Regions from separate parts of the Homo sapiens genome. Here regions 2, 3 and 4 are each linked to region 1. The links are contacts of gene promoters, found by promoter capture Hi-C in blood cells and fetal thymus (Javierre and others, 2016). All regions are on one chromosome and are shown on one strand. Each heading gives the region's core, a stretch centred on a gene start or on the middle of the fragment in contact. The rest is flanking DNA. Distances are from core to core; before and after follow the strand shown.

Evidence for each region. The method cuts DNA at HindIII sites, captures the fragments that hold promoters and counts their contacts. A CHiCAGO score of 5 or more calls a contact.
Region 2: a contact is called between a fragment that was not itself captured here and the fragment with the promoter of ITK in region 1, in 1 of 17 cell types (activated CD4 T cells). The highest score is 5.4, in activated CD4 T cells.
Region 3: a fragment that was not itself captured here is called in contact with the fragment with the promoter of ITK in region 1 in 3 of 17 cell types (M0 macrophages, M2 macrophages and erythroblasts); the score reaches 5.7 in M0 macrophages.
Region 4: a fragment that was not itself captured here is called in contact with the fragment with the promoter of ITK in region 1 in 1 of 17 cell types (non-activated CD4 T cells); the score reaches 7.0 in non-activated CD4 T cells.

The regions. Positions count from the first base shown.
Region 1 is chr5:157,175,968-157,183,822 of GRCh38, forward strand. It overlaps ITK (IL2 inducible T cell kinase), which reads left to right and starts at 4,873. Exons shown (of 17, transcript NM_005546.4): 1 at 4,873-5,148. The coding sequence starts at 5,011. The HindIII fragment of the contact is 39,229 bases long and covers 1-7,855 here.
Region 2 is chr5:157,601,572-157,609,426 of GRCh38, forward strand. No RefSeq gene overlaps it. Among named protein-coding and RNA genes, the nearest start is that of ADAM19, 30 kb to the left of the region's middle. RefSeq lists an enhancer at 882-1,041. The HindIII fragment of the contact is 2,938 bases long and covers 2,289-5,226 here.
Region 3 is chr5:157,472,714-157,480,568 of GRCh38, forward strand. It overlaps NIPAL4 (NIPA like domain containing 4), which reads left to right. Exons shown (of 6, transcript NM_001099287.2): 6 at 1-2,009. The coding sequence ends at 247. ADAM19 (ADAM metallopeptidase domain 19) reads right to left here. Exons shown (of 23, transcript NM_033274.5): 23 at 4,591-7,855. Among named protein-coding and RNA genes, the nearest start is that of NIPAL4, 16 kb to the left of the region's middle. RefSeq lists an enhancer at 6,214-6,724. The HindIII fragment of the contact is 2,464 bases long and covers 248-2,711 here.
Region 4 is chr5:156,909,679-156,917,533 of GRCh38, forward strand. No RefSeq gene overlaps it. Among named protein-coding and RNA genes, the nearest start is that of TIMD4, 50 kb to the right of the region's middle. RefSeq lists enhancers at 2,930-4,129, 4,130-5,075. The HindIII fragment of the contact is 3,564 bases long and covers 2,164-5,727 here.

The DNA.
Region 1 (7,855 bases), core at 3,623-6,122:
CAGCCTCCCAAGTATCTGGGACTACAGGCGAATGCTACCACACCCAACTAATTTTTGTATTTTTAGTAGAGACAGGATTTCACCATGTTGGCCAGGCTGGTCTTGAACTCCTGACCTCAAGTGATCAGCCCACCTCAGCCTGCTAAAGTGCTGGGATTACAGGCATGAGCCACCTTGCCTGGCTCTTTTTTCTCTTTATTTAATAGAAATGAGATTTCCCTGTGTTGCCCAAGCTGGTCTTGAACTCCTGGGTTTAAGGGATCCTCCCACCTCAGTCTCCCAAAGTGCTGAGATTACCAGCGTGAGCCCCCATGCCCAGCCTCTGTGGTTCATTTTCAAGGAAATTTTACCCAAGAGGACAACCTATGTCCTGACAGGACAAATGAATCCCGACAGGAGCTGGAACAGCTAAAGCCCAAGGGCTGAGGGTTGGGCTCCTTGGCCAAGGAGAGTGGCAACTCCTACATCAGGGAAACAGTTGTCAGAACCTTCAGCTGGAAAATCTCTGAAAACAGCAAAGCACATGAAACATGCAAGAAAAAGCAGCAATTGTTCATCCACCACATCCCAAGGACATCATCCCCAGATTACTGCTGCAGCTTCATGAACGTTGCACCCTTTACCCCTCTTCCTCTTTTCCCTCCAGCCTGAGCTTCCGACTCAGGTGTGTCAGAAACCAGGCTTGTGTGTGGGAAAAGAGAGGTTAGGACATGGTGGAAAAGCCAACATGCTTCAAATCCTGAAGCAAACCCATGCAAAGTTACGGAAAAGCATCAACTTGAATACATGTTTGGAGTTTTGATTATTACCTTGAACTGAACTGGGCTTTCTTTTTCTTTTCTTTGTATTGTTGTTGTTGTTGTTGTTTTGAGACAGAGTTTTGCTCTTGTCACCCAGGCTGGAATGCAGTGGTTCAATCAGCTCACTGCAACCTCCGCCTCCTGGGTTTAAAGCTATTCTCCTGCCTCAGTATCCCAAGTAGCTGGGACTACAGCCACCTGCCACCATGCCCAGCTAATTTTTGTATTTTCAGTAGAGACGGGGTTTCACCATGTTGGCCAGGCTGGTCTCAAACTCCTGACCTCAGGTGATCCACCCGCCTCGGCCTCCCAAAGTGCTGAGATTACAGACGTGAGCCACCGCGCCCAGCCCCTTTTTCTTTGCTTAACTTTTTATTATGGAAATTTTCAAACGTGCATCGGTGCAAGGAGAGTAGAATAATGATGTACCCATTAGCCAGCTTTAGCAATTATCAAGTCATGGTCAAACAGTTTTCATCCCTTCCCCTACCAATTTCTCCCCCTCCACTGGATTATGATGAAGCAAATCATAAACATTTTATTGTTTTATCAATAATTCAGTGTATGTTTCTATACAAAATAAGGACTATTTTAACATGATAATAGTGCCATTATTACATCTTTTTTTTTTTTTTTTTTGAGATGGTGTCTTGCTCTGTTGCTCAGGCTGGAGTGCAGTGGTACCATCTCAGCTCACTGCAACCTCCGCCCTCCAGGTTCAAGCGATTCTCCTGCCTCAGTCTCCCAAGTAGCTGGAATTACAGGCACACAGCACGACACTCCACTGACTTTTGTATTTTTAGTAGAGACAGGATTTCACCATGTTGGCCAGGCTGGTCTCGAACTCCTGACCTCACGTGATCCGCCCACCTTAGCCTCCCAAAGTGCTGGGATTATAGGTGTGAGCCACCACACCCAGCCCATTATTACATCTTAAAAAATAACAAGTTTCTCAGTATTATCAAACATCTCTTTAACATTCAAATTTGTCTAATTGTCTCATAACGTCTTTATACAGTTGATTTGCTTAACTCTTAATCCAAAGTCCAAACATGCTCATATGTCTCTTAAAGTCTCTTTTAATCTAAGGGTTCCCCCTTTGATTTATTTGTTGTTTTGTTTTGCTTTTGTTTTTTGAGACAGAGTCTGGCTCTGTTACCCAGGCTGGAGTACAGTGCTGCAATCCCAGCTCACTGCAACCTCCACCCACTGGGCTCAAGTGATCCTCCCACTTCAGCCTCCCGAGTAGGCGGGACTACAGGTGTGTGCCACCATGCCTGGCTAATTTTTTGTAGAAAAAGGGTTTCACCATGTTGTTCAGGCTGGTCTTAAGCTCCTGGGCTCAAGCAATCCACCCCCTTGACCTCCCAAAGTGCTGGGCTTACAGGCATGAGCCACCGTGCCCTGCCCTCTATGACTTATTTGTTACTGATACTGAGTCATTTGTCCTTAGCATGTTTTGTATTCTGGACTCATCCAATTGCATCTCCACAGTGTCATTTGTCAGGTTCGTTTATCTCTTGTATTTCCTGTAAACTCGAATTTATATCTCGAAGTTTGATTAGATTTGTGTTTGATTTTGTTTTCTCTTGGCAAGACTCCCGAGTTGCCAGTTTTGTGTACTTCCTCTTGCTTCACCTCAGGAGACATACAATGTCTGGTTGTCCTTCTTTTAAGATTAATCAGTGTGTTACAGTGTTGTCAGCTTCATATGACAGTTATACATTTTCCTATTGGCTTTTTGCGTAATAATTTTAACAGCCATTGATGATCATTGCCTACATTTATTATTTCATTGGCATTGCAAAACGATAGTATTCTGTCACTCCTTCATTGATTAGTTTCTTGGAAAAAAAGAACTTCCTCATTAAATACTTGATCACTGAATTGAAAGATAATTCTTCAAGAAAAGCAAGCAATATGTTTTATTTTTTTCCTTTGTTTCCAGTTTTCAGAAAAACAAGTTGGTTCTTCAGCATCCTCCAAAAGTGATCAAAAGGTTGGGATGCTTTTTTCAATTCTCTTTTGAACTCATTGTTTTAACATTTTTGCTGTTCTTCAATTCATGGCAATTATTATTCCTTTTGATACTCAAATTGTTCCATCTTTGGCAAGTGGGAACTCCTTGAATTTGGCTCCTATGAAGTGAACTTTTTAAAACCAAAACAAACAAAGGGACTATTTGTTTTTGTTTATGTTTTCCTTAAAGTGAGAAAAAAATATTGAGCCTCCTAAGTTTGCATTTAAAAGTTGGCAAAGATGAGTCTCAGTTAGTGGGTTTGATGGCTCTATGAGAAAGAGAATAAAATTACTTACGATGACACTCCATGTAGACTGAGCAAACGAAAGACTCCTAAGTATTGCAACAGCTACTGATGATATTTTGTTTTCCCGGATGAGAACACTTTGTGAAGTCTATAACTCTTTTCATCTGAACCAAGCAGGTGTAAAATGTACTTTCCTCAGAGGAGTTTGTAGTCTAGTTTGAGAAGATAGCACTGTATTATCTAGGTTTGCTGGTAGTGACAGAAACCTCAAAATAACTGAGACTTAGAAAATAGATATTAAAAAATGTAATCCAGGGCTGGCATGGAAGATCCATGGTCACCAGGGTCCCAGGCTCTTTCTATCTTATACTCCATTGTCCTCAACATTCAATTTCCACCTCATGATACTAGATAGCTGCTTCAGCTCCAACTGTTACCTCAATATTCTAGTCACAAGGCAGGAGGAAAAGGGAAAGAAAAGGGGATGACAGATCCCACTAAGGAAATTTCCTAGAAGTTGTGCACACGACTTCTGCTACATTCAGTTGACCAGAAGACAGTCATACAACTACACCTAGCTACAAGGGAGGCTAAAATTTGTAGTCTTTATTCTTGCTGGCCAGATGCCCAGATAACTGTCAGGGATTCTGTTACTCTAGTAAGAAGGAGAGAGTAGCTATTTGGGAATAGTAGCAATCCCTACCTCAAGCCCATACTCAGAAAAAAAAAATACTATCTTGTTTGGGCAGTGTATTTCCACACATATGTCTTAAGAATCTCAGAATGGGGGAGGTAATTTAAAATATACCAGTACCGTACCCTCCTGGGTGTCTTGATTATGCTGGGGCATCCAGTATATGAAATAAAATTAGGCTGTTGTCTGGTAATTTACATTTAAAAATAAACATTGGAGAATTTCACTCCTATACAGCAATAATTATTATTTCATTTATTATTTATCCCTACCCACTACATGCAATATCTGCTTACACTAAAATCTCTTGATTATTAACATAGTAGAGGTAACTGTCACACATTATACTTCAACTATGTACTAACTCTAAGGTGACATGTATGACTAGCACCTACCATTCATAAGATGTATGGGATTCAGTCCTCCAAAGGACCCTCACAAGGAAGCTAAGGATCAGAGAAGTCATGGCTTGCTCAAAGAGAAACAGCATAGTAAGTGACAGAGCTGGGAATCCAACACAAGTTTGTCTGTTTTCAAAGCCCACATATACTTTGTTTATTATGCCATTCTGAAGGATTCACTTATTTTTCACTCTTCCACAAAACGTCAGGACAGAAAGGCAGTCATCTATATGTAGCATTGAGAAATTTCTATGGGCTTTAATTTAAATCTTAAAAACTAATAAACTTCAGCAACATATTTCTTCACTTTAATGTGTGAGGGTTTTGTGCTCATTACCTCTTTTAATTGTCCAACCCAATTTGGTGATGATCCATTCAACAAATTTTTCTTGAACATCTGTTTTATGTGTCAGGTACTGTGATGGTTGCTGAGTATATCATGGTAAGCAAAACCACACATTGTCCTTACTCCTTGTGCTACATGATTTAACTGCTGGATGGATTAAACCAGGAACTATAAAGATTAAACTGTAATCCTTACCACAATTTTGAGTTTACAGTTTTTCAAATATCATTTCAAGCCATTAGCAAAGGCTGTATGTATTTTTTACATATGCCTCCTCGTTTTGTGAATTTTGAAAGGATGTGGTTTCGGCCTTTGACATCAGAGGAGAAGCTCAGCTATGTTGGCTGAACGTTGATAGAAAGATAACGTTGAAGGCAAGTTGCCCTTGAGCAGCTCTCTGAAGATCAACTGCCTCCACATTGCATTCTTTGCCCCAAAACTCTTTCCTTTGGTTGTGCTAAGAGGTGATGCCCAAGGTGCACCACCTTTCAAGAACTGGATCATGAACAACTTTATCCTCCTGGAAGAACAGCTCATCAAGAAATCCCAACAAAAGAGAAGAACTTCTCCCTCGAACTTTAAAGTCCGCTTCTTTGTGTTAACCAAAGCCAGCCTGGCATACTTTGAAGATCGTCATGGGGTATGTGAGCAGTTTCATTTGTCTTTTTTCGCATAGCATTTTATGTTTGGACTGGGCTAATGCAAAAATATATACATAGCATAAAATAGAGCACAGGAAACACAAACATGCTTATTGTAACAACATAAAAAGTACAGTAAAAGTAATCAGAGGAGAATGCAGAGAGCAGTCAAGAGGTGAAATGGTGGTGCTAGGTGATTTCAGTTCTAAAAACTGTAAATTTAACATTCATCAGCTTTTTCCCCCTGCAAGGTTATGTTTGGTTTTTAAATTATGAATAACATTTTAGGTAGCAAGTATTATGATTCGATAAAACTTGAACTTTCTATGAAACATACTAAATTTAATGAAACATACTAAATTTAATGAAACATAGATTAATACAACACTAGCATTCAATGGGATGATCTACCCCAGCTTTCTTATTTTTTAGTGGAAGAAACTGGTGTTTAGAATGGTTAAGTTTTGGGTTCAGTGTTAACGTTTTCATGAATAACTCTGTTTGTCTCAATACTCGTCGCTAGCCTGATCTTGAAATAAGATTTCCCAGGCATTTAATTATCTAAAAGTTGTAAGGCACAATGGCAAACCTCTTCATCTCTTGATAGACTTCTTAGGACACCAGGGTTATTAAGAACAAAGTTTCTGCAGTGCAGACCAGCGGTTCTTACCCAGAAGGAGTATGGCTGCTTTGCTAGGTCAGTCTATCTCTTTATCTAAAAATAGTCTTGTGCTTCTTAACATCACTAATAACAAAAGCAACAGGAATAATCCTAATAATGTAGTTTGGTAGAAAAAGCATTGGACAAAGGGTCAGGAGACCAAACTCTACTTCTCAGTAGGTGATCCAGTCTGGGCAAATGTCTACCTCCTGTTTCAGGTTCTTTCTTCATAAAATGAAAAAACTGGAAATAACAACCTTCAAGATCCCTTTCTTCTTCAAAACTTCTTTGCTTTATGCAGTGGCTCTTGTTTAGCCCTATGCTGCAATTTTTCAAAGCATGTTTGATTTCTTACTGTATGGTTATATTATTTTTACATCATTAGTGGGGTAGGACAAGGATTATCACTTATATTTTACTGAAGGGAAAATAATATTAGGTGCCTGATGGTCACTTAGAAACAAAAGTGCTCCAGTTCTTTGTTGGAGTCTGACTTAGTAGGTGGTGGCATGAGTTTGGGATTCTTTGGTGTGCCAGGGTTTAAAGCACTTCATGAGATGGAGCTCCAGAGGAGGTCAGGCTGGGTATAGAGCCTATGGATGCCTCACTTTTTAAAGTTGCAGGTGTTGCATGTCTTTTGTGAATTAAAAAAATACAGAAAACAAAAAAGTTGCAGGCGAAATAGCTCTGCCTCTTTAGAAGTGAAAAGAATTGCTTGTCTTATTATCAGACTCTTACTGATAACAATTTACCAGTCAATCAGAAAACACATGGAATTACGTGCAAGTCCTCTTTGCTAGGTGGCCAGGAGCCCAGTTTGTGAACTTGGGGGATTTATCATGTAGAGCTAATAAATCGCATGGCATTACTCAATGCTTTTTTGTGAATGGAACATTTAAAGTTTTTGTTTCATATTGAAAGAACAGTCATGTACCTTTAAATATTTTTTTCAAAGTCCATTTTGCAGTTTTCACCAGTTCGTTTTTCTGATTCAACATAGTATCATCTCATTTAGTTAGTATTAATAATTCCTTAGCCCAACTGCTATTTGTGAACTGATTGTGAATTCAGCTCAATATTATTTGTAAGTAATCACAAAACCAGATGGCCTTAATTCAGAATATTATTGGTCATAATTTGCATGTAGACAAGGTTGTAAAATCACCCTACTTCTTTATCTGAGCATTATGGAAAATTTCAAGACAATTACTTCATTCTGGGGAGCCCTAGGCTACAGTTTCTAATTCTTCCATGTGAGATATAGAGAATACATGTCCAAACATCAAATTTCTTGTTTTCTAATGCCTTTTTTACTCTTATAAATAACATTTTAAAAGTATTTCTTTAATTATTTAATTATTATAGAAGTTTATTAATTAGAAATTTATCCAAGTTCCCTGAAAAAGGTAATATATGTGAATTATTATTGTTCATGTCTTAGGTATACTACATGGTTTCAGGCCACCAATTTGCACACAAGGCTGCATTAATATTACTCATAAGTAAATAACATTACACTTATGGGAAGAACATTTTCATTTTTAAATTAAAGGCTTCATTTTCAATCTGTAAAATGGGTGTGATAATAGTACCCATTTCATAGGAAGATGGCAAAGACTCAGAGGTATAATGTCTTTAGGCTGAACTTTTTGAAATTATTTGGCAGATCGAATATCAGATATTAGAAGTTTCAAACAATTCAACTTAATATATTAGGTACTTAGCATAGGCCCTGTCATCTGGTAAGCATCTAGTAAAAATTAACCATTATTTGTATCCCTTTCATGTCTCTACAGAAGCTAGCAGGCTGTCATAACAATTCATTTTCAAATTATGGGAGATATTCAAGGATTCTTCAAAGTCAAGCTAAGATCAGGGTCCTGGATTCCTTCTATTCTGTGGCTAAATATAAGTTTTGTGGGGTAGATATACATGCATTATGAGCTGTTTGGCCAGTTATTGCCCCTCTTAGGGTGTCGGGTGTCAGAGCTTCTTTTTCTCTTTTCTCATGTGTAAAATTATGATTCTTGCAGTTCTCATATTCT
Region 2 (7,855 bases), core at 2,508-5,007, 420 kb after region 1:
GAGGCAGGAGAATCGCTTGAACCCAGGAGGCAGAGGTTGTAGTGACCTGAAATCGTGCCACTGCACTCCAGCCTGGGCAACAAGAGTAAAACTCCATCTCAAAAAAAAAAAAAAGTGTTTTTTTCCTTCTTTTTTTGTTTTCCTAGGCTCTTAAAAACCACCAAAATTTCTAATAAAAGTTTGATTAATAGACCATGATATATTTCGTCCACATGACAGAGTAATAGACAACCCATAAAAATTATGTGGAAAATATCTAGTAACATGAAAACGTTTTCACAGTAGATTACTAAGTGAAAAATATGAGTTTAAAATTGTACATTCAATTATATTCTACTTGTGTAAAATGTGAGTATTATGTGTATCTGCATTGTTAAAAGACTGTTTAAAAATGCCTTTGGGAGAGAGAGGATTACAGGTGTTCAACAACTTTTTTGTGTGTTTTTAAAATTTTCTACAGAGAAATTGCCAACAAATTTCCTATAGAGAGATCATATTAGTTTATACACATACATATTCATACACATTTTTTTCCTTAAAATAGAGATGAGGTCTTGCTATGTTGTCCAGGCAGGCCTCAAACTCCTGGCTTCAAGTGATCCTTCCTCCTCAGCCTCCTAAACTTCTAGGATTACAAGTATGAGCCTCCATACCTGGTCCACATACTTTTTAAATTAAAAAAAAAAAAACAGTCCCTGTGTTGAAGGAATTTATAGGAGACAGGGTGTAGACAAATAAGAATGCTGTAACATTAGAGACTATATATTCAGGACCCTTTAGAGACCCAATGGAAACCATCTTAACACAGAAGGGAAGATATTGGCTCATGGACTTTGATTGGCCTTGCTTGGGTTATATGCCATCCTTGGATCAATTACAAAAGACAGAATATGGCATTCTAGGCCAAAATCAGGAGCCTATGCTACAAGCCCTGCCTGTTGTCAGCACCCTGTGGCAAGGGGTGGGAGACGGCAAGATCTTCCCCCTTTTCCCAAAAAAGGGTGCCAGAAGAAGGGGGATGAGGAAGGTAATTGTGGGAGACCAAGCATGAAGCAGTTAGTTTTGCCTGGAGGAGAGGGGCAAAGGCACAGAGGAAGTGATACTCATGCTGAGTGTTCAAAGACGGAGAGGTGTTTCCAGGCAGCTAGCGTCAGGAGGGCATCTGTAGAGGAAGAGGGGGAGTGTTATGAGCAATGGGGAAGGGAGCCAGAGAGATAGTCAGAGGCGAGATCTGGATGTGGCTTCTGGGTCAGGTGAAGGTGTTGAGCCTTCATTCTGAGGGTCATGGGGAGCCCCCAAAATAAAGATGAGGACATGTGTGTTTGGTTGCCTTTGCTTCTGCAGCAAAATACAGTGCCTGGCAAACACTTTTACAAGCAATGATAGTAATAATATGGCTGCCTCCTGCACTAGACTCTATGACTCTCTGATGGCCATGAGGAGGACGGATTTGGGGGCTTTTGACAATAGCCTCCACTAAACCAGTGTGTTTCCAATGTTTTTGACTGTGATCCTCAGTAGGAAATACATTTTACATTACAATTCAACTAAATTTCACTGAATTATGTTAAAAAAAATCCCCGCCCTAGACTACCAACTCCATCTTGGCAGTGACCATGACTTATAACTCTTGATAATTACCATAGGTTTGATGTCTGGTGAACTGTCTCATGGTGGGCCCATAATATTACTGTTACTACTAAATTCATATTTACTGAATGAACAGGTGCAGATGTCGATAAATGATTCAAAATATTTGCAAACTACAGAGAGTTATACAGGTGCGAACAATTGATGTTGGCAACTAACTCAGACACATATTGATGAGCCTGTATGTTAGACCAATTGCCGGAGCAGGCAGCGGGAGGTGATGCTGAGGGCAGAGGAAGGGGGTAGAGGGAATTTACTGCCCATGGAGGGTGGTTCTCCATGCACCACATTTCAATGATTCATGCTACTTCCTGGGCCACAGTTCTCCTCCATAACCGCACATCCTTTTTCACAGACTGTGAGTGATTTCAATAGTATATGAAAACTATGACTCAGAGGCTGGAAATCAAAGGGTTTTCTTTGAAGGCCGGAAAAATTTCATCTCAAAGAAAGTGCAACAAACGCACAAGGTAGTCTTTTTCTCTGAATAGAGACATGGGTTTAAAACTAGGAATAGTAAATGACACAGGCACAGAGACGGGAAAAAAGCCACTGTTGTAGATATCTTGAAAGTGCATTTGGCTCACGGAGGGTCTCCAGGGACCACTTAAGCCCATCATTTCCATCCCACCTATTGAAGCTTATTGATTAGTACAGTCGCAAAACCCTTCCCATGTGTTCTCTGTAACCAAAGTTCTCTAAGTAAAAAGCAAAGCCCAGGAAACAGCTTTAAAAGGAGAAGTTTACCTAAAGATGAGAAATACTAACTGGGGCTGAGCACTGGCTTCCTCCCAATGTCAATATTCCTGCAAGGTTTAAGGATTGGGATCCCATTTGAAGAAGCACTTGTCGGAAGAAATAATGATGTTCTGTCTTTTTCAAAGAGTCGGAAACCTTTGTGATGAACAAAGTCATAATTAAAGACCTTTAGTTCAGGATTGCACTAACAGTTTGATAGTTACGGATGACTGAGGAGAAATTTCCAATACCAATTATATGGAGCCTCTTTCTTTCTTTCTTTCTTTCTTTCTTTCTTTCTTTCTTTCTTTCTTTCTTTCTTCTTTTTTTTTTTTGAGACGGAATTTCACTTTTGTTGCCCAGGCTGGAGTGCAGTGGGGCGATCTCGGCTCACTGCAACCTCTGTCTCCTGGGTTCAAGCGATTCTCCTGCCTCAGCCTCCCGGGTAGCTGGAATTATAGGCATCTGCCACCAGGCCTGGCTAATTTTTTGTATTTTTAGTAGGGACGGGGTTTCACCATGTTGGCCAGGCTGGTCAAGAGCTCCTGACCTGAGGTGATCCACCTGCCTCGGCCTCCCAAAAGTGCTGAGATTACAGGCGTGAGGCCTACATGGATCCCTTTTCATTCAACAGACAAGCAGACAATTAAGATAATATTCTAAAAAGGCCTTAGAGTTCCAGATTAAGGAACCTTGGGACCAGGCTGACTTAGGCTAAATTCCACTCTCTCCCCCATGTCACAGGTAAGATCCATGCCTTGGAAGTTAGGTAGTTTTTGCCTTGAACATCTTCAGTAATCAGCTTGAATTTTCTAAATGCAACTTCATCATTCTGCAAATCAGCAAGACTCACTTCAAACACACGACCCTTCAGACTACCAGGTGCAATTTTGGTTCCCTGGGTCCTGGTGACCAGTGTCTTTCCAGTATTTCTTCTACTGAACATAGCATGCTTTCACATCGTACCAATCTTTCTTAGAAAATGGATCAACCAGCCAGGGGTGGTGGCTCACACCTGTAATCCTAGCACTTTGGGAGGCCGAGGCAGGTGGATCACCTGAGGTCAGGAGTTCAAGACCAGCCTGGCCAAGATGGTGAAACCCCGTCTCTACTAAAAATAGAAAAATTAGACTGGGCGCAGTGACTTAAGCCTGTAATCCCAGCATTTTGGGAGGCCATGGCGGGTGAATCACCTGAGGTCAGGAATTTGAGACCAGGCTGGCCAACATGGTGAAACCCCCGTCTCTACTAAAGATACAAAAACTTAGCCGTGTGTGGTGGCACACGCCTGTAATCCCAGCTACTTGGGAGGCAGAGGCAGGATAATTGCTTGAACCTGGGAGGCAGAGGTTGCAGTGAGCCGAGATCGTGCCATTGCACTCTAGCCTGAGCAACAGAGTGAGACGCTATCTCAAAAAAAAAAAAAAAAAAAATTAGCCAGGCATGGTAGCAGGCACCTGTAATCCCAGCTACTCAGGAGGCTGAGGCATGAGAATTGCTTGAACTCGGGAGGCGGAGGTTGCAGTGAGCTGAGATCACACCATTGTATTCCAGCCAGGGGGATAGAGCAAGACTGTCTCAAAAAAAAGAAAAAAGAAAAAAAGAAAATGGATCAGCCACTTCTTGGCTCCCTTTTTGCTGTCTTTCGTAAGGTACTTGTTCTTGCCAACCACCATGTTGCTGCTCAGAATGATCTTTTCAATAAACGGTACTGAAAGAACTGGACAGCCATATGAAAAAAATGAACTTCGACCTTTAGCTCACATCATACACAAAAATTAATTTGAAATAAATAATAGAGACAAAAGTTGTGAACATAAATACATTCAAAAGCTGTTGGAACCCCCAAAGCACTTTTTTTTTCTGGCAAAGTCCCACCTCAGCCTCCGAGTAGCTGGGACTATAGGTGCGCACCACCACACCTGGCTAATTTTTGTATTTTTTTGTAGAGACAGGGTTTCGCCATGTTGCCCAGGCTGGTCTTGAGTTCCTGAGCACAAGCAATCAGCCCACCTTGGCTTTCCAGCATGCTGGGATTATAGGTATGTGCCACCACACCTGGCTTCCAAAAAGACTTTAAACCTTGAGAGAGAACTGGTGATCTGAGTCACTTAGCATGTAGTTGCAACTTCTGCTTCTTAGATTATAGATCAACTCTCTTTTCTCATTGTTCTTGTGCTATAAATGACTGGGAGAGACCAGAGACCAGATGTCCTCCCCTTCTAATCACTGACCTTTGTTATAGATTGTCTCCTGCATTATTCTGTACCTAACTCAAACCAGATGGCGCAAAAGACCTCATGACTGTTTCATCTTCAGTATGGAATGTTCAGTATATCTTTCCTGAAAGAAAAAGATGACCTTCACCAATCAGACCATTGTAATTATGCATTAAGCCTTACATAAGGCCGGGCATGGTGGCTCACAGCAGGAATCCTAGCACTTTGGGAAACCAAGGTGGGATAATCACTGGAGCCCAGGAGTTTAAGGCCAGCCTGGGCAACACGGCGAAGCCCTGTGTCTATAAAAAATTGACTGGGTATGATGGCACACACCTGCAGTCCCAGCTACTCAGCAGACTGAGGTGGGAGGATCACCTGATCTCAGGAGGTCGAGCCTGTAGTGAACGCTGATGGTGCCACTGCATTCCAGCCTAGGTTGCAGAATGAAAGTCTGTCTCAGGAAAAAAAAAAAAAAAAAGCCTTGTATAAAAAAAGTTAAAATTCTGATTTTTTCTCCTAAACTTTGTCTATGTAAACCACCCCAAACTTCTGCACTTCAGAGCACAACAGTACAATTCCATCTTTCAAATTTGTGCTTCCTGGGTGGCTGTCCTCAAGCTTTGTGCTCAAAAAAACTCTACATTTAATCATATTTTCTAAATTTTATTATTTTAGGTTGACAAAGTAAAGGCTAAAACTATAAAACTTCTAGAAAAAAAATAGGAGAAAATGTTCACAAACTACAGTCTTATGGTAGACAAAGATTTCCTGGACAGGACACAAAAGTATAAACCATAAGAGAGAGAAAAAAAAGATAAATTAGACTTCATTAAAATTTAAAAATTGCCTGTACTTTGAAAGGTACTATTAAGAAACTGAAAAGGCAGGCCACAGTCTGGAAGAAAATATTTGCAATGCAAATATTAGATAAAGGACTTGTACCCAACATACATAAAGAACTCTTAAAATTCAATGAAAGAAGGCAACTCACAAAAAAAAAAAAAAAAAAAGAAGAAGAAGATTTGAACAAACCCTTCAAAAAAGATGATATATAAATGGCCAGCAAATACATGAAAAATGTTCAACATTATTAGTTATCACGGAATTGTAAAGTAAGGCCACTGTGAGATATCACTTAGAAGAATATTCAGCTTTAGAAAACAGTTTGGCAGTTTATTTATCCCTTACCCTATGACCCAGCAATTCAACTCCTAGGTATTTACTAGCCTGAGAGAAATGAATCACCTAAGCCCTTTATTTAGCTTCTCACAAGTTCACTGATTCACTCTGTGACACTGGCCAGGTTCTTCCCATCTCTGGCCCTGTTTTCCATCTGTGGAAAGCAGATGTATGGGTTGGGCTAGGTCAGGGATGGCAAACGACGTTTGTCTTCAGTACAAACTCCTTATCACTGCCAGGGACTGCCCAGACTACCTCTGTGATGAGAAGGAATGTCTGATAGAAATTGAGAGCTCTGTGACCCACTAACAATGTCTGCTAGAGACATGAGAATGACCCAGAAAGGCCACATACTTCCTATATGCTATATGCCCACAAAAAGATTTGTGCATGAATGTGCATAGCAACTGTATTCATAGCAATCGAAAACTGGCAATAACTCAAATTCCAGATAGATTGTGGTACATCCACACAATAGTTTATTACCCAGTAATATGAAAACTATTAATATATGCAACAACATTGATGATTCCTTTCTTTATATTGAGTGAAGGAAACCAGAAACAACTCTATGAGTCAACGTATGTGAAACTGCCGGAAAAGGCAAAACTAAGCTATACTGACAGGAAGATCTGTGGTTGCCTGGGGCTGGGGTGAGAGAGGGGACTGGCTGGAGGTGGCAGGAGACTTCTGAGGGAATGGAAATGTTCTAAATTTTGATTGGGGCAGGTGCAGACGTTTGTCAACATTCACCAAGTTGTGGCGGGGGGCAGTGGTTCATGCCTGTAATCCCAGCACTTTGGGAGGCTGAGATGGGCAGATCACTTCAGATCAGTAGTTCGAGACCAGCCTGGCCAACATGGCGAGACCCCGTTTCCACTAAAAATACAAAAATTAGCTGGGTCGGTGGTGGGCACTTGTAGTCCCAGCTACTTGGGAGGCTGGGGCAGGAGAATCTCTTGAACCCTAGAGACGGAGGTTGCAGTGAGCCGAGATTGAGCCACTGCACTCCAGCCTGGGTGACCGAGTGAGACTGTCTCAAAAAAAAAAAAAAAAAAATTATCAAGTTGTATGTGCACTTAAAATGGAGATATATTAATATATGTCGATTGTACCTCAAAAAATGATTTTTACAGAAGTAGCTTTGAAACGTAATGAACTGTTCCACAAGCACGTGGCAGGAAGAGGGCCTGCTACCAGGTATGCTGTGGGAGAAACATGGAAGTGAGAAAGGACAGGGCACCTTCAGAAACACATTAGTTTGTAAAATCGCTCTCAGCTTTGCGAAGACCTTTCAGGCGCGCTCGGAGAGGCTGGCCAATTGCTTCTCAGATCCCCTATTAGAAATTTGACCACGGGCCTAACGGGAACAGGGCTGCCACGGAGCATGGAGAGAGGGCCTGGAGCCCAGGACAGATCATTGCTGACTTGGTTCTGAGTTCTCCATAAAAAACCTCATGGCCTTTCTCCTCCTCCAGACTCACGTGCCCCACCTCACTTCCTTAAGAATCTAGGCTCACAGCACGCAGGCAGGCAGCCATCAACCCCGAGCCCCCTTCCCCTTCTCCTTCGGGGAGAAAGCACTAGATGGAATAAGTCCCGTCAGTCCCAGCGTTCAGACATTCTCCTAAGTACTGTTCTTTTAAAAAGCTGGAAAGTTGGGTTAAGGAGTTTGGGGCTATTATTAGTGCCAAACACTATAAAAAGGAAATGCCACTGATAATCTTAGATGGCTGTATTTTCATACGGGGATAATTCAAGCTTCCTTCTTAGAGTTCTCAGTCATAAGAAACCCTTCATTAAAATACTCCCTCGGGCCATAGCCTCAAACCTAGCATTGCTCAAATCCTTTGGGACTATTCAAGTCAGGACTGACCGGGAGAACTCAGCTGGCATTTTTTAGCCCATTTTTATGGCTGCCTCCTTCTGAGTTTCTCGTGTTGTTCTACCAGAGGAAAATAACGAATGATTCAACCTATGCACAAATATTTATTTGCACTGCTTACATGGAGGCGGCATAGCAAAGGGCCTTAGGGGGCAGGCTCTTGTCAGGCTTAGCTGAGCTC
Region 3 (7,855 bases), core at 230-2,729, 290 kb after region 1:
GGACATTGCAGGCACCCTCTCGGGCTTTGTCACCATCATCTTGGGCGTGTTCATGCTGCATGCTTTCAAAGACCTGGACATCAGCTGCGCCAGCTTGCCCCACATGCACAAAAACCCACCCCCTTCTCCCGCCCCGGAACCCACTGTTATTAGACTGGAAGACAAGAACGTCCTTGTGGACAATATAGAACTTGCCAGCACCTCATCACCAGAAGAGAAACCCAAAGTATTTATAATCCATTCCTGAAGCTTGGAATATGTGAGTGAGAGGATGAGTCCGATGGTACAGCCTGCCCTCCCAATTTCAAAACCACCTGGTTATTTTCCAGTGCAACTGTTACCAATGGGCTCTCTTTTCTTGAGAAGTTCATTTATACCTCATCACTGTTTCCAGGAGAAAAATCTTTACCCAAATAGCAATGGTGGCAGAACTTCCTGGAAACAGATTCAGTGACCAAATACCCAAGTTTACATCAGTGCCTGCAGGTTCCCTGGACCTTCCTTCTCATTCATTCTTTCGGTGCCATCTCTATGCCGTTGGGAAGAAGATGGAGTCTGACCCACTGAATGTAGCACAGTCCAAGGACTTCTCTAAGATATTGGTCATTGGAAGTTCCTTCACACCAATTCTCCTCCTGAGACGGAATCTCCGTTGTTGTTGTTGTTGTTGTTTTCTAGCCCAAGGATGACATAGAGCTGGCTCCCAGAGGCCCACAGAGCAATTGGCCATGCCTCCCTATCCAGAGCTGACAGGGACACAACCAGTGTAAAATATCCTGTTGCCTTTGTCACTTCCTCTTTGGAGGCAGAAGCAAGACCTCAGCTGACCTTCTTACTGTGAAAGCCACTTGATGTCTCAGGGAAAAATTTCAACCAGCTCATTCCCCGAGCACTCCAGCCTGGCAGTCAGCACCTCGGCATCCACCCAGTCCATCCCACCATCACCCCTTCCCCCTCTACTTACATCCTAAGGAGTCGGTCACTGAGACATAAAGGCAGTAATCGCAGAACTGGAAACAAAACAATAATAGAGCCACAGCCAAACTCTGGTGGCCAAACCCAGTGTTGCATTTTGTCTTACTCTGAAAGAAGAACAGCAAATTCACTGCTTCAAAGTGGCCTGGCTGCCAAGCTAGAATTTGGCAGAACGCACTTTACTATTCCTCAAGGAGTCAACCAACCTATGATCTGGGGAGGTGGGAAGAGGATGAGGAGCAAAGTTGGGATTTGGCAGAAGGCAGTCCCAGGCTCTCTGGATACTAGGGGCTAACTTTTGTGTTGACTCTGGTGCTCATCTGGGAACTTAGGAGAAACGAGCTCAGGGGTAATTTCTGGGTTGCAGCCTTAAAGGCTTGGACAGCTGTGAATCTCAATGGCCAACTGGAGGTGCAGACTTGGCATGGGGTGCATTCTAGCTGTTGACCAGATTGCTACCGAGTCCCCTCCTCCACTGATGAGCTGCCCACACTGGGAAGCAGCATGCCCTGACTGTTCCAACACCACCTGCTATGGGGAGTACCTTTGGTCCCCTCACATTTGGCCAGAGGCATACAAAAAACCAGAGCAGCTGGAGAGGGAGATAATTACTATTCCTTCCCTTCCTATCTCCTTTCTAGCCACAAGAGTGTGGGGGTTGGAGAAGAACCATTAGAAAGGGAAATTAGTGGGCTGGTGTATCTGGAAAGAGGGAAGACTTGATCCTCAGCCCCGAGGTTGGTGCAGGGCCTCCCCTGTGTGACTCTACCTGCACTCTGTGTTTATATCCTGTGCCCTAAGTGGGCCAAGCCCAGGTAAATTCCTGCTGGCCTTGGAACTCCAAGGTTTGGCTGACCAGCAGACTGGCTCCCTGACTCTTCAGCCTCAAATCCCCAGTTTTTGATGAATGTGGATTTCTGTCTGTAATTAAAAGCAATGCAACAAGTTGGCTCTTGAGAATGGCAGTAAACTGAGGGCCCTAAGAGTGTGGTCTGCAGGGTCAAGAATAAAGATTACAGATTATATTTACTTGATACTTGTGTCTTGACCTTCCTTGAGCATGGAGTGATTAAACTGGTTTTTCTAGGGCTGGAAGGACAGTCTCCAATCTCTGAATGAATGCGACTGCCAATAAAGCCCCTACCGTGTCTGTGGTAGTTAACACCCTTGGTAGAGTGGGAAAGATAGTTTCAGAAATAGAGTCAGTTGAAGACAACTCATCCCTAGTTAACACCTGAGCCCTTACCAGGCACCAGGCATAGTAGGTGCTTCCTGTGAATTCTCTTTAACTCCTCACAAATCCTCAAGTTAGATACGTTTTTATTCCCATTTATATAATTGCCCAAGGTCACCCAGCCAGGAAGAGCAAAGCTGATATCTGGTTTAACCACCAGGCGTAATGTGTCTCTCCAAGACTAACCTTGCCCCCAGTTGCATAATCTGTTTTGGTTTTTTGTGTTTTGAGACAGGGTCTGGCTCTGTCCCCCAGGCTGGAGGGCAGTGGTGTGATCCTAGCTCACTACAGCTTCAAACTCCCAGGCTCAGATTTGGTAAAAATGAGGCCTTGCTATGTTACCCAGGCTGGTCTCAAAACTCCTTTCCTAAAGTGATCTTCCCACCTTGGCCTCCCAAAATGCTGAGATTTTAGGCCTGAGCCACTGTGCCTTGTGCATAATCTGCTACTACTTTATTCATTTATTTTCTTGTGATCTGTGCTCTTTCCCCATCTGGATATAAGCTTCATGAGAGTTGGCTTTGATTTACTGCTTATCCTCAGTGCCTAGCACATCATACGCACTAAAAGAATAAAAGAAAAAGAAAAGATTGAAGGAACAATATCACAGTCCTTCCTTGCCCAAACTCTCCTGGGGACCAGCACTCAATGCAAGGCAGATCCTAATAGAACTCTGCATGTTAAGCAAAGCAACTGTAAACTGATGTAGTCAGCAGTTTCTCAGCACATAGCCTGCGACAGGCCCTGTTGGGGACTTGCACATACAGAATTTCATTGATGATCACGACACTTTTGAGGCAGGTATATTATTTGTATAGTGAAGAGACTCAGAAATCTGGAACTTATCCAGGCCCACTTATCTATTGAGTAGCAAGCAGAGTGAGGACTTCAACCAGGGTCTGCCCAACCAGGCTTTCTCCATTATGCTAGTGACCAACACGTGAGCATCACCCCAGAGACTGGCTGACAGCAGGGGAAGAGTGGCCTCTTAACCAGGTAGGGATGTGTGAGTGGGAAGCAATTTCATGAGCAGGCATGTTAGTAGTGAAAGCATTTGTGTTTAGATGTCTTTAGGGTCCATAGGCAACCTCATAACCATGAGAGGTTAGAAAAATATAATCAGGCTGGGTGCGGTGGCTCACGCCTGTAATCCCAACACTTCAGGAGGCTGAGGCGAATGGATCACTTGAGGTCATCTCTACTAAAAATACAAAAATTAGGCGTGGTGGTGGGCACCTGTAATCCCAGCTACTCAGGAGGCTGAGGCATGAGAATTGCTTGAGCCCGGGAGGCGGAGGTTGCAGTGAGCTGAGATTGCACCACTGCACCCCAGCCTGGGTGACAGAGAGAGACTCCGTCTTAAAAAAAAAAAAAAAAAGTAAAATCAGAGAGCAAGAAGCCTCTCTCAGGGTTTTTGTGAAGATTAAACGAGATAATCCTTATTTGTAAACAGCATGCAGTGAGTGGCTCACGTATGTTAAATACAGCTGTTCCTTGGTATCTGCAGGGGATTGGTTCCAGGACCCCCATGGATAACAAAATCTAAGGATGGCCAAGTCCCTTATATAAAATGGTATAGTATTTGCATATAACCTACATATATCCTCCCATATACTTTAAATCATCTCCAGATTTCTATAATACCTAATACAATGTAAACGCTGTGTAAATCGTTGTTATACCGTATTTTTAAATTGTATTACTTTTTATGGTTGTACTTTTTTTTTTTTCAAATATTTCAACCTGCTGTTGGTTGAATCCATGAATTTGAAACCCACGGATATGGGGGGCCGACTGTACTGAGTAACTGTTACCTTCGATCATGGTTATTAATCCTCCATCTCTCTGAGAGAACCTCAAAATTGAGGTAGGGATCAATGAGAGAATAAGGGTGGGATCCTTTTATGGACTGGGAAGCACTAATGAATACGAGCTGTGATATCACGCAGGGTTCTGGAATCAGAAAGCACACCCAACCTTATCCCTGGCTGTGCCTGCCTACCCAGCCCAAGAGACCTGGGGCAAGTGTCTCCCCTCTTTAAAGTATGATCCCTTGCCTTAATAAGATGAGGAGGTGAGCAGAGGCTCTCAGCTGTCTTCTATATGCAGTAGTGTAGGATGAGAAAAAACATATCGAAGAATCTCAGGATCATTCAGGCCTTTAATAAGCAGCCTGCGTCCAGGTGTAAAGACAAACAGCCCCCTCTACTGGTCATAGGAAAACATAGGCTTTGCTGTGGCTCAGGGTCCACCATGAAGGCTTTATAGGCTGAACTGACCATCCTTGTGGGAACTCTTTCTGAAGTCCACGTCATGAATCCTATCTAATCTGAGCAGTAGGACATTACAACAAACACACAATAAAGAGCTGCCAAACCAGATAACATTGCAAATGACAAACAATTCATTTTTAATTAAATACTAACAAGGAAAAAAGGCACCATGGCCCATTCAAGTATTTTGCATAGATGTACAAATATTGTAAACAATTAATAGGTGGACAAGAGAGAAGAAGATCTGTTTTCCGTGAACAATCTCCCAAATAAAAAGAAAATTCACATTGCCCTGGATCCCAGACACATACAAACGCACAGTGGACGGTGTGAGAGGACGCGTTGGGGGTGACTTTGGAAATGTGGGCTTGGATTCTACAGAACCTCTCCTTCGCAGGCTCCCCTGGGGAAGGGGACCTTTCCAGTTGGCGTTCCCATGGCTTTCTTGGGTGTCCAGCAGAGCTGTTATACACGTGGTTAACACAATTACTGACTTTGGAACTGGTCCCCAGTTTTCAAATTGCAAGTCTTCCATACCCTCTGTCAAATAAGAATAAATTAGGAAGTAGGCAGGGAGAGACTTCCAATAAAGATTGGAAAGGCGTATTGCAGGAGGTGGGGAGGGGCTATTGCTTCAGGGGGAAGGGACTATGGCAATACAAAAAAACACTCCAACCAGAAAATCAGCAAGTCTCAGACCTTAAGATCTGCAAGTGTCTCAGAGCTGGGGCAGAAAAAGGCTTTACTTTTATAGGGAGAAGTCAGCAAGGCTGAAAGGAATCTATGGCTAGCAGGCAGTTACAAGATTGAGCCAGGTGCCCAGGCTAAGGCTTCTAGAGACAGGGAGACAGGGCACTAAATCCCTTGAGGTTTGTTTTAGAGATGGCTCCAAGGCCCTTAAAAAAAAATTCTTGGGTTGTAAAATTGGCAGGAGGTTAATTTCACTTTTAAAAAGATTTACCTACATCCCCATCTGCACAAAGAGCTTGCTAACTCACTAACCCAAACTTGAGTTAAGCTTCCCTCCTCCCCACCAGACCCTGGACTTTGGGCCATCCTCAGCCTGAGCCAGCAAACAGCCCCTCCCCTGGAGACAAAAAAAAAAAAAAAAAAAAAAAGGCTGGGCACAACGTCATTCCCTGAACGTGGTTCTTTCTAGCCATGTTTACTTCTTCCAATAAAAGAAAAGTCCTTTTCTGCCTGGGCTTTGAGACGCTTGCAGATCTTGCCATCGGTCGGTCTGAGCCTTTTCACTATTCCCATAAGGCCCCTTCCTCTCCCTTTTGCAATATTCCCTTTCCCCTTCTGCAATCGTGCTTTGGAATAAGGTCTCTCCTTCCCTAAGCCCAGATTTATTTGTATTTGACACCTCAAAACAGCATACTGGGCACTGGAAAGAAAAGGGGATGCATAATGGCCAGTCTTCCTCCTGGGCAGCCTCCCTGAACAGAGCCAGGAGTGAAGCATTAGTAGAACTGGTTGCCGAAAGTCTATCAAATTCCAAAACATTCCACCATCTTCCAGTTCACAGTACAACTTTATGGGATGGAGGTGATATGAAAATAATAAAACAAAACAAAACAAAAAGCAAGAAAACGACAACCCAGGTCTCTTTCTGGTGTGGTTCCAGGGAGGGTGGACTGCAGGTTCAGATGGCTCATGCAGTCACTATGGCTGTGGCGCTGTCATTTCAGAGCTATCTACCTCCTGATGTGAGGGAGAAAGGCTGGAGAAGCCACAGGAAGCTCTGTGAGGCATGGGGTTGGGTTTTGAGGATGTTGCTTGTTTGTTTTGCAGAGGGGTGAAAGGGGATGTTTTCACCTTTACTTTCCAGGAACCAAGCCTTGAGGCAGAGGGTAGCACATTTAAATAAAAGGTTGGGCCACAGGAAAGGTGGGGAATGGATCTCCACAGCAAGGATGACCCACAGCAAGGATGACCCACGGCAAGGACATGGGGAACCTGTATCACAGCCACCCTGAGGGAAGAGAAACTCATTTTCCTGAGATCTTTCTAAACCCAACCCAGGCTTTTCCCCCAGGGGTACATCCCGTATTTTCCACTTATTTCCAAACCCAAGAACATCCAAGAAGCACCTATTGTGTGCAGAGAACTATAAGGAGGCCCTGGGGTGGTGAATCAGAAGCTCAGCCTCAGCCTTGCAGTGAGGTTTTCAAGAGCAAACAATTGCTCATGGCAGGATGGGAGGAGGCCCCAGGAAAGCCTCAGAGGAGTGAGAGTCAGGCCAGCTCCTGTCCGGAGAGCCACCCAGCACCTTTGTGGAGTGGGAGTCTATCTCCCAGCAAACATCTCCAGGTGCTTTGCAAAAACCGTCCTATCTAGCAAAGCACCACACGGCCCTCCTTCCCTGCTGCAGGGAAGACAGGAGCCACCGCAGACCCCCTCACCTGCTCAGAGCTCTCTTTCTGTGAGGGTCAGGTAAGGGCAGTGACCAGAGAGAGAACAAAAGGAAGTGAATGACAAAAAGCTGGGTTGAGGAAGAGGCTCCCTGCTCTGACTGTTCCAGTGCAGCTGCTGCTGGCTGCCTTCTCCAGTGATCTCGGGCAGCTCCCAGAAATGGGTCTGTTCTCTGCTCAGAGGGCAACGGTCCAGCCCGAAGTCAATGACCAGCCTGCTCCCTCGTGTGTACTTTGTAAATAGCTGGGCTCCCTAAGGGGAAACCTCACCTAGATTTAGCTTAGAGTAAGGAGGAAGACCCCCACCCTGCTGAGGTCACAAAACACAATGAAAAATAAACATATGACCCCAATGGCCATGCCCCAAGTCTACTCTGGTCACACTCCTGAGAGCCAGTGAGGGAAATCCAGTGGCCGACTGTGAGAGAGGACTCTGACTTGTAGGTCACAAGCACCTGGTCACCCGAAGGTCAGGACTGCTGAGGGTTTGCTCACCAAAGCACCACACATTAGAGGGAGAATGAGAGGGGAAGGAAGAGAGAAAAGCGTGGGGCACCAGGAAAGTGCGGCAGAGAAAACAAAGAGCAACTAAAAATTATCCAGAGTCAGGAGTCGCAACCTTTGGCATCACGGCTCAGAGGAAGCCCAAGCCCGGTGCTCCTCCTGCTGTCTACACTGCCTACGAATAGTACCTGTCTGAGTCAGAGTGACCCGTGTGAATACAGGGATGCAGGGGTTTGGGGAGAGGTGGGAGGGGACGTGGCTTGTCACATGCAGCCATACAGCCAGAAGCCGTTCCCTCAACCAAGCCCTGGGCAGGGCCACAGCAGTGGCTGGCTTGACCCTTCCTTAATCCCTAAAAGCTAAAAGGGGTGGGTAAGTACCAGCCTCCATCCAGCCCGGGACCTCTGAGGAGAGCAGAAGCAATGGGAAGCTCTCTTGCGTGCCCTGCACCC
Region 4 (7,855 bases), core at 2,696-5,195, 270 kb before region 1:
GCTGAATAGTTCCTTTCTACCTTCCACATGTATGTAATCATTAAGAGATCAAAAAAGTGCTTTTATATACCTGAAGGGACAGGGCACATGGGTTAAGGCCCTGGGCCATGGAGGTGCTTCTTAGTTAGAATCCCAGCTGACTAGCCTCTTTATCTGACTGAGCTTCCATTTCCTCATCTGTCAAACAGAGATAAAAGTGACAACTACCTCAAAGGGTGATTGTCATGATTAAATTTAAAAGCGTATTTAAAGTGCTTAGGGCAGTGTCTGACTTACTGTACATGCTCAAATAATATTAATGATGATGATTGGCCCTGTTATGAATTCCAAGCACAAAGCCAGGGGCACATGGTGAGCATCCCATAAAGATGGCATGGATCCGTTGATTTGAGAAGGAATCAGGACACTTGATTCTAGTCCTGTCTCACTAACCATGGTGGGAACACAGTCACTTTGCTTCTCTGTGCTTCCATTTTGCTCCTCTATGAAATGGGGATACACTGTCCCTCTGACACAGAGCACCAATGTTTGAAAATGCCTAGAAAAGTATGAAGCAGCATAGAAATATAAGGTGAGATTTCTTTCTATTACTCTCACATCTGTGATAAAGCCAACTGTCTTCCGCCAAGCTAAGAAAGTTCTGCCATAGCTAAGAATTCTTGCTCTAATTTGCCTTCACCACCTAGGTCTGAATGTTTCAGCCCCTTCCTCCATTGACTGGTGACCCTTACAGCAAAGGTACAGGTCCACAAGTTCAAGAACGTATCTATATATATGCAGAATTTCTAAGCATATTATCCCTTCACTCTTTTTGTTTCTCAGGCACATCAGAAATTATCCAAATAATTGGAATCATGAAATGGGTGATAAAGATAGAAATGGCTTTGCAGACTGTAAGCTGCTTAGGATCAGGGACTGGGACTCTCTTGTTCCTCACAATGCCCCAGCTCCCCACAGGGCCCTTTGGCACATAGGAGACAACCAGTAACCTTGTGGTGGATGAGTGACTATGGCAGAAATCAAGACTGTCCACCCCACAGCCATTCCCAGTTTCACCCATGCTAACAGATCCTAGTCAATATGCATAGCCTAGAGAATGAATAATGATTGATTAATATAAGTCATCTAAGCAGTTGCATTTCCCTTTGCCAAGGTCTGGGTATGTGACCCAGTTTGGACAATCAAACACAGGAAAGTCTTTTAGTAATGTCCCTTTTTGATAAAGCATCATATTAGAAGAAAAGCCCCATTTGCCACCTGCTTCCTTTCTTCCTACTTGGCTTTTCTTTTCTTTTTTTTTTTTTTTTTTTGAGAAAGGATCTTGCTCTGTTGCCCAGGCTGGAGTGCAGTGGTGCAATCAGCTCAATACAGCCTCAAAATCCTGGGCTCAAGGAATCCTTCTGCCTTAGCCTCCTGAGTAGCTAAGTGAGCAGGTACATGCCACCATCCACAGCTAATTTTTTAAAAAAATTTTTGTAGAGATGGGGTCTTGCTGTGTTGCCAGGGCTTTCTTTCTACTTGGGATGCTTTTGTGGGAGGACATATCAGAGCTGTGGCAGCCATCCTGTGACCAGGAGAGAAGTGCCAATGAAGACACAGAGACCTGACTAACACCTCATTCTTGTGAAGCTGCTGAACCCAATCCTACAACACTCCTAAGTCCCAACTCTAGTTATGTGAAATGATTCAAAGTCTTTGCTAATTAAATCATTATTTTTTCGTATTCTCTTACTTGCAAAAGAATACAGTCTTACTGAGACAATGAATGACTGCTTGTTCCCTACAGAAGATCTCCCATTATATCTAAGTACAAAAGAAAATATAGTTGCCTTTTTACCAAGTTCCTTATTGTGCAACAAAGATTACCACTTAACCAATCTCCCACTTTTCTCTTACAATCTTGGTGTCAAGACATCTTTCTAGTGTCTTCTGAAGAGATTCATAGTGCCACCCCGACCCTAAGGACATTCCTTCTCTGATTATCTTTTGTCTTATTATCACTTTCCATAGACTAAATATTATATCTTGGTTTGTAACTACTTTAGGGGGCCTCTTCCAGAGTAATTGGTCATTATCTTTATGCCTCAGATCTTCTTGAGCGATATTGATGATTTCCATATGCAAAATCACATGGGGTTAGTAGAGCCACACAAACTTAGGCCAAGCTTTGTTCTGATTAATTAGAAACATTATTTTCTGGTGCAAAGCTACCCCCTCTCTAGGGCTGAAGTTTGCAAACATTGCTGTATATTCAAATCACCTGAAGTGCTTTAAAAACTGATGCCCATGTCTCCTCGTTGTGAATCAAATCAGGACCTCAGATGGGAGCCAGGCATCAGTATTTTTAAAAATGTTTTAATTATTTATTTATTTTATTATTTTACTTTTTGAGATGGAGTTTCGCTCTTGTCACCCAGGCTGGAGTGCAATGGCGTGATCCTGGCTCACTGCAACCTCCACATCCCAGCTTCAAGTGATTTTCCTGCCTCAGCCTCCCGAGTACCTGGGATTGCAGGCGCCTACCACCATGCATAGCTAATTTTTGTATTTTTAGTAGAGGTGGGGTTTCACCATGTTGGCCAGGCTGGTCTCGAATTCCTGACCTCAGGTGATCCACCCTCCTCGGCCTCCCAAAGTGCTGGGATTACAGGCGTGGGCCACAGCATCTTGCCTAAATTTATTTTTAATTGACAATAATTGTGTATATTTATGGGGTACAAGGTGATGTTTTGATCTATGGATCAGGCATCAGTATTTTTTAAGTTTCTCCATGTGATTCCAGTGTGCAGCTGAGTTTGAAAATCAATGCTTTAGACCAGGACTTCTCAAACTTTAATGTGCACATGAGTGACCTAGAGATCCTAGATGTTACAAGGTGAATTCTGATTCATAGGATCTATGGTAGGGCCTGGGATTCTGCATTTCTAATATGCTCCCAGGTGATGACAAAACTGCTGGTCTGAATCTCACACTTCGAATAGCAAGGGTCTAGATATAAAATGTAGATCTAGTAGTAGTCTATTCTAACAGCGGATCTGAACAAACTAAATTCCATTTGGGTTCAACTGCAAAGTCACAGGAAAAGTGATCACTGCAATAAAGTCAAGAGCAGGGGCTGTGAGTGAGAGAACTGAGAGGATGGTTGTTTTTGATCTCTAGTTTATAGACTTAGGTTGACCAACCATCCAAGAGAAGCCATCTTTGCAAAATTATAACGATGAGAGAAATCTGACACAGTCGACCCCATTTTGCATAACTGACATATTTTGACCCCATAGTTTCCACAATCCCTTATTGCTCAGGAGTCATATGGCCAGAGATCACAAGGTTTGCGACTTCCCCAGTTGCTCATCTAGGTAACATCACTACTGTAGAAACTAAGATTGGTTTTTTGAAATATTTTTTCAACAGATCCCACCCGGCCTTGTGACTCATGATTCACCCGGTCCTGTGGCCCCACCCAGAGTTGGACTCAGCACACAAAGAAGTGTTCCACACCCCTATGATTTCATCCCCAATTTATCAGCAGCACCCTTTCCCTAGACCCCTGCTCTCCAAACTGTCCATAAAAACCCTAACCTTCAAGCCTTTGGGGAGATTGATTTGTATAATAACTCTATTTCCCATGTGGCTGGCGTCATGTCCATTAAACTTTTTCTCTACTGCAATGCCGTGTTCTCAATGAACTGGTTTTGTCTGTGCAGATGGCACAGGAAGAACCTATTGGGTGATTACACCAGTTTGCCCAGGACTGAGGGGTTCCTGGCATGTGGGACTTTGAGTTTTAAAACCAAGAAAGCCCAGAGCAAATTGAGACAAGTTGGTCACCATAGTTATGGTGCTGCTAGGAGAGCAGCAGAGCAGCCAAGCTGTGCGCTTTTTGCATTCTGATTCCTCTTCCTGGGGGCAGCAGCCCACTATAAAGCCAGGGGTGTGCTAAGATAGATGGCTTACGGAAAAGGAACGCTGAATTGCATGGCCACACCAACAAGAACTTAATTACATGACTCCAGAAGGGCAATAACAGGGCAGATTCTGTGAAAACTCCAGAATCTTAGCCACAGAGACAAGTCTAGAAAACACAGTTTAGTGCTTTGCTCTAGCACTGGTTAACTGTGGGACCTGGGCAACTCATGCCCCCTTTCTGAGCCTCAGTTTCCTTGGCTGAAAATGGGAGTGAAACTGACAGATGTGTGCGAGTCTTTGCTGTGCTCCCACCCCATTATTTCACATACAGTATGGATAATGCATATAACCGCACAATAGCACCTTTTCAGCACAAGCAGCAAATCCACCTTCTGTTTTGCGAGCAGCCATTTCCAGTGCTCCCCAAACTCCCTCTGGATAGCATTAGCATTCATCTTATTCGGGAACACTTCCCTTCACTGTCCTTTGATGCTCAGAGAGCTGAGAACTCACAGTGCTTTTTTTTTTTAAGGCTGTAACATATTTACAAATCTAAATGAAGCTCTATTTCCAGACCCAGTCTTTCGGTTTTGAGTGGCTTCCTCCTTCTGCTCTCACCTCCACCCAGGGAGCCCACTTCTCAACTTCCTGTTTTCTTTAGAGAGACAAAGAGTCTCCCCAGCCACCCATTGCTGGATTCCTGTTAACCTTTCATTAAGCCTGCTGACAGCTGGCTTTAGCTCTTCATGAGTTAGTTCAACACATTCCCATTTAAATGTGTCCCACCTGGCTTCATTAAGTTTCCTGCCAGGTTCTCCCTTTACAGCTTCCTCTGCAAATGCAAATCAGATTCTGAGTAAATAATATGGGGACAAGGGAAGATTGAGCTATAATGGGGTTGTAACTGGAAAGCCATTGATATACTCAGGTTGCTGTGGATCAGAGGACACTGAAATCCATTTGAGTCCAATGCAGGTCAGTGTTACAGAGCCATATGCATGAAGTCTGGAATTGGAGCCCTCACTGTGAAGTACAGGGTAGTGGTTAGAGTGTGGAGTCCTTCAAGCCTGGTTCAAAACCTGGCTCTGCTACAGGAGATTGGACGACGTGACCTTGAGCAAGTTCCTTCACCTGCCTGTGCTTCTGTTTTCTTAGCTCCAAAGCCAAAATAATATACCCGCTTTATTGAGCTGCTGTCAGGAGTCAATGAGATAATTGCCTTGAAACAGTTAATAGAGTACCCAGAATATAATAGGTGCTCATTACAAATTGATAGTATCTCCTGTGTTTAGCCTAGAAAGGCCATGGTGAGGAATTAGGTTGCTTTAAATTGAGCTTGCATGCGGCCCAGGATGGCTTTGAATGTGGCCCAATACAAATTGGTAAACTTTCTTAAACATTATGAGATTTTTTTTGCGATTTTTTTAGCTTATTAGTTATAATTAGTGTTCGCGTATTTTATGTGTGGCCCAAGATAATTCCTTTACTTCCAGTGTGGCCCAGGGAAGCCAAAAGATTGGAAACTCCTGCTTTAAATTGTGAGGTTTGATTGTGGATCCACCATATAATCATTAGCTGTAAGAAGCACATACTGCATCACATTCCTTCCTTATGGAAATGGAAAAACAACATTGATTCCATTCGATTGCATTACCTTTTTGTTTGTTTGTTTGTTTTTTGAGACAGACACAGTCTTAATCCGTTTCCCAGGCTGGAGTGCAATGGTGCGATCTCGGCTCACTGCAACCTCCTCCTCCCAGGTTCAACCGATTTTCCTGCCTCAGCCTCCCGAGTAGCTGGAATTACAGGCACCTGCCACCAAGCTTAGCTAATTTTTGTATTTTGGGTAGAGACAGGGTTTCGCCATGTTGGCCAGGCTGGTCTCAAACTCCTGGCCTCAAGTGATGTGCCACCTCGGCCTCCCAAAGTGCTGGGATTACAGGTGTGAGCCACTGCACCCGGCCTATTCTATTGCATTTCCCATGTGTGTTTTGTCTCATTCAGAAGTGAAGCTCCTTAAAAGAAGCAATTCTCTCTCCTGGGCCCCACATACAATAGATACCAAAAAGTTATTTATAGATGCTAACAATTCATCCTGATTACACAAAGAGGGAATGAGAGGAGCAACTACATCCACAGCCTCCTCTGATCAAGGAGTCTCAGTATAAGAATTATATATTTATTTTAATTCATCTTTTACTAAAATCCACCCTTTATCCCCAGTCTCAAACTGGCTACCTTGTTTTAGCCCACAGCCATGTTTTGCTTGCCCAGGAAATCATTTTAACTAATTTTAAATTTTAATGCCCTTAAGTGGACATACACTCCGATTTATCATGGGCCATGTCATCTCCCTTTGACTCCCTCAACTGTATCAGCTGCCTGGCCTCTAAATTCATCAGAGTTTGCCACCTCTGCCCCAGGCAGAGCTAAGTGTGCTGCTTCTAGGTAGGTCTAGGGGCCAAGGATGAAAAGGGCTGGAAGACAGGAGACAGGAGACCCATACCTGTATTGAAAGAGGGTATCTCTGCCACAGCATGGAGAACAGACAGGAAAAGGAGTAAAGTCAGAGATTATAATTAGGAAGATACTGCAGGAATCCAGCCAGAAAGTGCTATCAGCTTAAAGGAGATGAAGCAGCAGGACCTTTGCCCCTGGTACTGGAAGCTCCTGACCCTCTGTCTGGCCAAGCCCACCACCACACAGCCCTGGTAAAGGGAGATTGTTTTCTTGAACACTTTATCTGTTAGGAATTACTACAGTGCAACATTTCTCAAACTCTAACGCACATCAGAATCATCTGGAGGGTCTGTTAAAACACAGTTTGCTAGACTCTACCCCCAGAGTTTCTGATTCTGGAGGTATGGGGTGAAGGACATGAATCTGCATTTCTATCAAGTACCAGTGACACGGAGGCTGCTGGTCTGAAGTGCATAGTTTGAGAGCCACCGGGCTAGACCAGCATTTTTCAGAACTTGGTTCCATATTAGAACCACTTTGGGACATTTTTCAAAAATTCAGATGCCCAAGTCATACCCTGGACCAATTACAGAAAGAATCTCTTAAAGGGTAGGACTCAGGAATTGGCATTTAAAAAGCTCCCCAGTTGATTATTCAGCTAACATTGAGAACTACTAGGACAGAGGCTCCTGGAGGCCATTACGAGCTCTAAAATACTATGATTGCTCATGTTAGTGTTTCTTAGTCGGTACAAGGAGTTTCAGAAATACATTTGGGAATCGATTGAAAATACCCCTTTGCAAAACAGAAAAGTAATATTCATTGAGTTTAAATGTTCTGTTTAGGAAGTGTCTGTCGTCTTCTTTTTCTAGTCAGACCCAAGCTGGTAGTGACATTGATAATGGCGGTGGTTTTGGAAGGTGGATAGGGAGCATGAGCTAAGTTAGGGTTGGGTGTATCATTACCTCACAAGATACTATAACCTGACTACATACACAAAGCCATCTGGCCCCACTCCATTTTCTAGATGGGGAAATTCAGGCCCTGAACCTGGCTCTAGACCCACTTCCCCAACGTTTCTAAATAAATGTTTGAGTTTAGCACACTAGACAAAGTCACTTTAAGTATCTTAAGCTGACATCAAAGCCAAGTTGACCAAAAAAAAAAAAAAATTTTTTTTTTAAAAAAAGGGCCAGGCACAGTGGCTCACGCCTGTAATCCCAGAACTTTGGGAGGCCAAGGCAGGCAGATCACCTAAGGTCAGGAGCTCGAGACCAGTCTGGCCAACATGGCAAAACCCATCTCTACTAAAAATATAAAAAATTAGCCAGGTGTGGTGGCGGGCGCCTGTAATCCCAGCTGCTTGGGAGGCTGAGGCAGGAGAATCGTTTGAACCCACCAGGCAGAGGTTGCAGTTAGCCAAGATCATGCAATTGCACTCCAGCCTGGGCAACAACAGCAAAACTCCGTCTCGAAAAGACGAGAAAAG